Linked DNA regions of Homo sapiens: region 2 is linked to region 1. Evidence: promoter capture Hi-C in human tissues and cell types (Jung and others, 2019). All regions are on one chromosome and are shown on one strand. The core of a region is centred on a gene start or on the middle of the fragment in contact, and the rest is flanking DNA. Distances in the headings are between cores, read along the strand shown. Region 1 holds the start of ZMAT4 (zinc finger matrin-type 4). Region 2 overlaps ZMAT4 (zinc finger matrin-type 4).

Evidence for each region. The method cuts DNA at HindIII sites, captures the fragments that hold promoters and counts their contacts. A contact is called where the count stands out against the background at its distance.
Region 2: a fragment that was not itself captured here is called in contact with the fragment with the promoter of ZMAT4 in region 1 in 2 of the 25 tissues and cell types used here (dorsolateral prefrontal cortex and hippocampus).

Annotation. Positions count from the first base shown.
Region 1 is chr8:40,896,317-40,899,505 of GRCh38, reverse strand. ZMAT4 (zinc finger matrin-type 4) reads left to right here and starts at 1,680. Exons shown (of 7, transcript NM_024645.3): 1 at 1,680-1,823. The HindIII fragment of the contact is 9,161 bases long and covers 1-3,189 here.
Region 2 is chr8:40,662,467-40,665,738 of GRCh38, reverse strand. The region is part of intron 5 of ZMAT4 (zinc finger matrin-type 4); the gene reads left to right. Among named protein-coding and RNA genes, the nearest start is that of ZMAT4, 230 kb to the left of the region's middle. The HindIII fragment of the contact is 5,848 bases long and covers 1-3,272 here.

The sequences.
Region 1 (3,189 bases), core at 431-2,930:
CCTTTTGTTACAAACAATCCAATTGTACTCTTTCAGTTATTTTAAAATGTACAATATGTTTTGCTGACTGTAATAACCCTGTTGTGCTGTCAAATACCAGATCCTATTCATTCTATCTAACTCTATTTTTGTACCTAGTAACCATTCCACCCCCGCCCCTTCCTAGCCTCTGGTAACCATCATTCTATTCTCTCTGTCCATGAGTTCAATTGTTTTAATTTTTAGCTCTCACAAATGAATGAAAACATGTGAAGTTTGTCTTTCCATGCCTGTTTTATTTCATTTAACAGAATGTCCTCCAGTTCCATCCATGGTGTTGTAAATGACAGGATCTCATTCCTTTTTATGGCTGAATAGTACTCCACTACGCATATGTACCACATTTTCTTCATCTAATTTATCTGTTGATGGACACTTACATTGCTTCCAGATCTTGTCTATTGTGAACAGAGCTGCAATAAACATGGCAGTGCAGGAATCTCTTCAAGATACTGATTTCTTTTTTGGGGGTATATACCTAGCAGTGGGATTGCTGGATCAGATGGTAGCTCTATATTTAGTTTTCTGACAAACCCCAATACTGTTCTCCATAGTGGCTGCATTAATTCACATTCTCACCAGCAATGTAGGAGGGTTCATTCTCTTTTCTTCACATCCTTGCCAGCATTTGTTATTGCCTGTCTTTTGGATAAAAGCCATTTTAACTAGGGTGAGACTTTATGATTTCTTGGTGAACAAGGAAAAGTGTTTAAGCTGTCCCCACCCTTTGATGGGTATGTTCTCTCTTCACGTGCGTAGGTTGTTGATGAAAGTCTAAGCGATTAATTTAAGCCATGTCAGAATAAACCAAAGTGAGGGTCCCAGCAGAATCATTCACTCTAGAATGCTCGGCTTTCTGGACCTCCCAGTGAGAACAGTGAGAAACTCCAGAGTTTTATGGATTTTAAGAATAGCTCTTCTGAGACTCTTTGGACAGGGTGCAAAGGAAAATTGTCTCCTCAGGTTGGGGGATGAGGGGGACTGTGAGATAAAGTACTGATAGATAAACTCCAGGTATGCACCTACTATGCTCCCCAAGCAATCTGCCATGTCCTTCACATGTCCTCCAGGGTGGCCCTGTGAAAAGCATTACTCCATCCCTTCAGCCCTCAACCTTGCTCGGCTTTCTAGAGTCTGTCTCATGCCGGCAGACACCCCATAGTTATTATTCTCTCTGCCCTCAGCAACATTTACCAGTTAGGGGGAAAATAAAGCCAGAAAATTGTTGCTATGGGCTCTGTTTTGTGGAAGTTAAAATGCTAGAGCAAGAATCTGATTGCTTGATAGCTCCATCTCTCTCTCTCTCTCCCTCCTACCCTCCTACCCCCCCACAGTTTCTCCTTCTTTTCCTCTCCCCTCCACCTCCTTCCCCCACCCCGCTCCCCCACATTTTCCTACTCCTCTCCCCTCTCTCCACTGGCCTCCCGGTCCTGCCCCCACATTGGGCTGGAGGAGAGCCTTACAGGTTGTCAATGAAACATGGAATTATTTCCTTTGATGGCTTAGATAATAGTAGGAGCCAAAGCAATGAGTGAGGTCGGCTGAAACCAATGCAGTCCTGCCCGGGACTGGAGAGCCAATCGCAAGAGCAGAGGGCGGGGCGTCGGAGCCAGCAGATAATTGCTAAGTGCATCGCTAGCACAGTTGGTCCGAGCTGCCGAAAGGTCTGGTCGCAGAGACAGGAACGTGTAATCCTCAGCGTGCTCCAGCCCACAGCTTCGCTCTACTGCTCGGCAGGGCAGCTGGCCTCTGGGCACCGGCGGCCCCTCTGCCTCGCGGAAAAGGTACCTCTGCCTGCGTCCCGGGGGTGCAGCGCCTGCGTCTCCATTGCCAGTGGCTTTGCAGTTTAGCCTAGGTGGAGGGATTGCAGAAAGAAAAGTTTCTGGGAGGGAATGTGATAAAGGTGGGAAATCACTGTCTTTTGTTGGGAGGAAAACAAGCGGACAATTTGGGAAACTTCTGCGCTGGCAAGAAATGGGCTTGTTTACTACTCCTAATTAGCTGCGCTCAGGTCTGTCTAAATAGGTCTGGTCTCAGGCTAGGGTGTCTGCAGGGCTGGGGTGGAGATTCGGGTGTGCTGGGTGAAAGAAGTTGGATCCCAGGGTGTGCTGTTTCCTGGTGCACCCATCATGGATAGGCTGGTTCCGAGAGAAACGTGATTGGTTGTTTGTGTTTTCCGCTATAGGGTCTGTCCCCTTCGTATTACCTTGATCTGCCTTCCCCAAACTATTGTGACCTTCAACTGGAGTCCTTCCTCAAACTTCTGCCTCCTTCCTGCCTGTCTCAGTTCATTTTATTTGGTGGAAGGAGACATTCCCCGGGGTGGGTGGGTGAGGATGGTCTATTCTGTTTGACCTGGTGGGCACCTACGTGACAACTTGGTGACACGCCAGCAAAACAGTTCTCAGAGGAGAGGAAATCACATAATTAATTAGCTCCCGAAAACTCTGGAAGACTTTCCAGGCTTGGGGTATCCTGAAAAAAAAAAAAAAAGAAAAAGCCAAAAAACGGGATAGAGAGTTCGGTTTGGTACCATGTGAAGCTTACACCCTTGTCCCCAGAAGGGGTGCCTGGCCCGGAGCATCCCCGCAGCTCTGGGAGGTGGAGGCTGGTGGAGGGGGTGGCTCCGTGTAGGTGCGCAGGTTGTTTTGGTGCACAGGTGCATTTGTGGCAGAGGTGGTGCTGAAGTCACCATCCACACTGCTTCTGCTAACTGCTCTTGAAGTAAAACAGCTCACCCCGGCAGGCAGCTGGTTCAGCCCAGAAGCACCCTTGAGCATTCTAAATCGCGAGACCTCAGGGGCCTCTCTTGCTCTGAGACCCTTGGGAAACTCCTTTCTCCCCCTGCCTCCTCCGCCTTTGGCTTCTGCTAAAGGGAGATATTAGGTAGGTGAGTCACTAGGAAGCAGGGACCCATGGGGAAGCAGGCGATGTGCTTGGTCTCGAACTTTCTTCCTCTTCTGCGAAGGCAGCTTCTGCTTGTGTGCCCACCGCACTTCACCAGTTGCGCTGCCTACCTGCGGGATACTCTGAAGCTGATAGTCTGGGGGTGATCTTCCAAGTCCTAGGGGCATTGAAGAGTTTAGATGATTTTCATCCCTCTGATTTCCGTTAAACCCGCAGCTGGGGAGTTCGATTCCCAGTCCTGAC
Region 2 (3,272 bases), core at 102-2,601, 230 kb after region 1:
CCCAGAATCCTGAGTAATTAACTCTTTTGTTTAAACAGTTGAGTTTGGGAGACTTGAATATTTTTTGTGTAGAAAACTTGCTTTGAACTGAAGTATAGAATAAGCACAGCCAACTCTGAGTTTTCTGGGAATGGATTATTTGCAACACGCATTATGTACCTTTAACAAAGGACTTTCCCCCACATTCATGACTTCATCTCAGCTGGAGTGAACATAGCCATGCAAAGAACTGTAGTCACTATTCATGGGGGCCTGGGTGAGAGAGGCAAAGTTCTAGAAAGAGAAGACATACTGCTGGAGAGGCCCCTAGAATGTACAATAGCTCCCCCTGTAATGCAGCTGCTGCCTCTCTGTGTGGAAATGGGGATGGATTGCAAGAGGATGCAGGCAGCTTATCTAGGACTTCAAATCATGAAAGTAGTATGTGCGACAGAGAAACAGATTTGCCACAAGATAAGCAGAACCTGGTGGTTGAGAGGCTTTACATTTTTTGTTTTTTTTGTGTGTGTGTTTTTTTGTTGTTGTTTGTTTTTTTGAGACAGTCTTGCTCTGTCACCCAGCCTGGAGTGCAGTGGCGCAATCTCAGCTCACTGCAACCTCCACCTCTCAGGTTCAAGTGATTCTCCTGCCTCAGACTCCTGAGTAGTTGGAATTACAGGTGCCCACCACCACGCCTGGCTAGGGCTTTACGTTTTGAATTATTTCTGCTGTGAGCTTTCAAGTGACAGAGGATTAACTGCTTCATATTTTCTTCCACTTAACCTTGGCATGGCCTTTGTCCACATCTCAGGCAGTGGACATCTTAGTCATGTCAATGTGGTGACACTTTTCTACCTTCAGGTACCCAAGTTACCTGTGCATGGGCACTCAGGCTGTGGGTCTGCTCCAAGACCAATCAAAGGAAAGACATTCTAGGTAAATATCAATAGCAATAATTATTTTAAAAAAGATTTATAAGGTAACCAATGCAACTATTGCTGTGCAATCATTACCTCCAAACTTAGTGGCTTACAACGACAAATGACACTTCTCATCTCTCACAGTTTCCATGAGGGGATTTGGGAGTGGCTTGGCTCAGTGATTCTGCCTTGAGGTTCTTCATAATATTGTAACAGAGACATCAACCAGGGCTGCTGTCATCTGAAAGCTTGAACGAGGCTGGAGGGTCTACTCCTAAAGCCAGCTCATTGCATTCTGGGTAATAGGTTAGTGGTTGCCAGGCATTGCAGAGGGCAGGACAGATGGATGATAATGGGGTATTGGAAGCATAATGGAAATTATACTTGGATCATGGTGGTGGCAACCTGGTTTTATGGTTTTGTCAAAATCTGAATAGCTATGCACCAACAAGAGAGCAGTGTGTACATTTAAAAAGCTAAGTAGAAGAAGAGAGAAAAGGCAGCTCACTCACACACCTGGCTTATTGGTGAGAGGCCTTTGTCTCCTTGTGGGCCTCTCCTTGGGGTTTTGAATGTACTGGTGTTGTGTTCGCTGGCTTCCTACAGAGTGAGTGACCCAAGGCAGCATCTGGAGGAAGCTCCCCTTTCTATTACACTTGAAGGTCTCTGAGCACCACTTCCACACATTCTATTTGTTAGAACTTCTTCATATCACCCACAGTACCCAAAACAAGGTGTTGCTGATAGAAGTCCTGGAGGATCGGTCTCCCTCCTGTCACCCAGTGGAAAAACTACACTCCACATTCTCCACTGTCTGTGGTACAGTCAGAATTATGGGTCTCAAACCGATGATTCAACATTTTCAAGTACTGAATACTTGACAGAAACTAGTGTCAAATAATATGTACTTTGATTACATTTAATCAATTAAAATAAAAGCATTAGTTCTCTTTATACTAATATTTTCAATCTCTGAAAGCTGTATGTATTGTATCTAGTTAAGAATCAGCAGAAAATAGGACCCTTAAACACATACGATAATTATAGAACACAATTCTAAATTAAATGTTAGTGAAGAGGTGCCAGAGAAAATACTCAGCTTAGATTACACCTGGTTATTTTTGCATTATTATTTTTAATGTGTTTTGACACCTCAGCTGTTCTATGTAGACTCACTCTGATCTTCAGAGCCCACATTTTGGATTAGATAATTAAACTGCTTAAATGGCTCATGTTCCTGTCATATTATTGGGGTAGGAATGAAGTGGGAAAATAGTGTGATATAGAAGAGATAATTTTGGTTCTCTTATTTTGTCATTCATTCATTCATTCACTTATTCAAACACACTAAGTTCCTGTTATGTGAGAGGCCCTGTGCTTGAATTTATAAGGGAATGTGACTCATCCTCTAATCTCAAAGGGTTTGAAGTCTGAGGAAGGGAGGGGGAGAAGATAATATCTTTATTGAAATAAACGTAACACAAAATGTGAAAAAAAAGCTTGGGAGCCCTCCAACCACAATGCTTTGGGAATGGAGAACACAGAAAAAAACGACTTCCAACTTGAAGTTAGCATTGAGATATGTAGAAGTTGGTGGCTAGTTTCCCTAGAGCGGAGAGATCAGCATGACTACAGGCCAGATGGGGAAGGGTGATCATAACTAGCATTCAGGTCAGATGGGACCTTGGGTTAGATGAAGGTAAGAGAAGGCTGAGAAGACAGATTGGAACCAAATTGTAAATGGCCTTGCATGTCAGGCAAAGCGGAACTGTATTTGGTGGCCACTGATGTGTTTTTGAGTAGAGAGATGAATACTTGTCAGTAGAGGATGTGATCATTGGAATGAGGAGATTCTGAAAGCCAGGAGACCAAATCGAATTCATGCAGAGGCCTGCTGAGGGCCTGGAGGAGACCAAGGCAGAGGTCAAGGGGGAAAAGTGGAACGAGTGAAAGATATATTTCTTGGTGCACTATTCAGAGTGCTCTCCCAGTTAGCAAAATGAAAATGAGCCTGTACATTAGAATTCTCAAAGACACCTTGACAAGGTCAACGTTTCCTATTGGGAACTCCAATAGGAAAAACAGAAATGTAATGAGTAACATGAGTAATAATTTAGATTTCTGTTCAGTCTCAAATCCAACAAGAAATGTAATTGATGAACATTCTCAGTCGTGTGTTTACATACTATAGGGGCATTCTTCCTTCAGCTGGGATGGGTTTTGCCTGTTATTGTTATTAATGAAGCTAATAAATGGAACACTCTCTAAAGACGCTTGGTTAAGTCTTCCATCATCACTGACTAGGTTCCAAAAGAGATGAGAGCTTGGCTTCTAAAATGAAATCATTTTTGCACTACTGCATCCATTTATGCA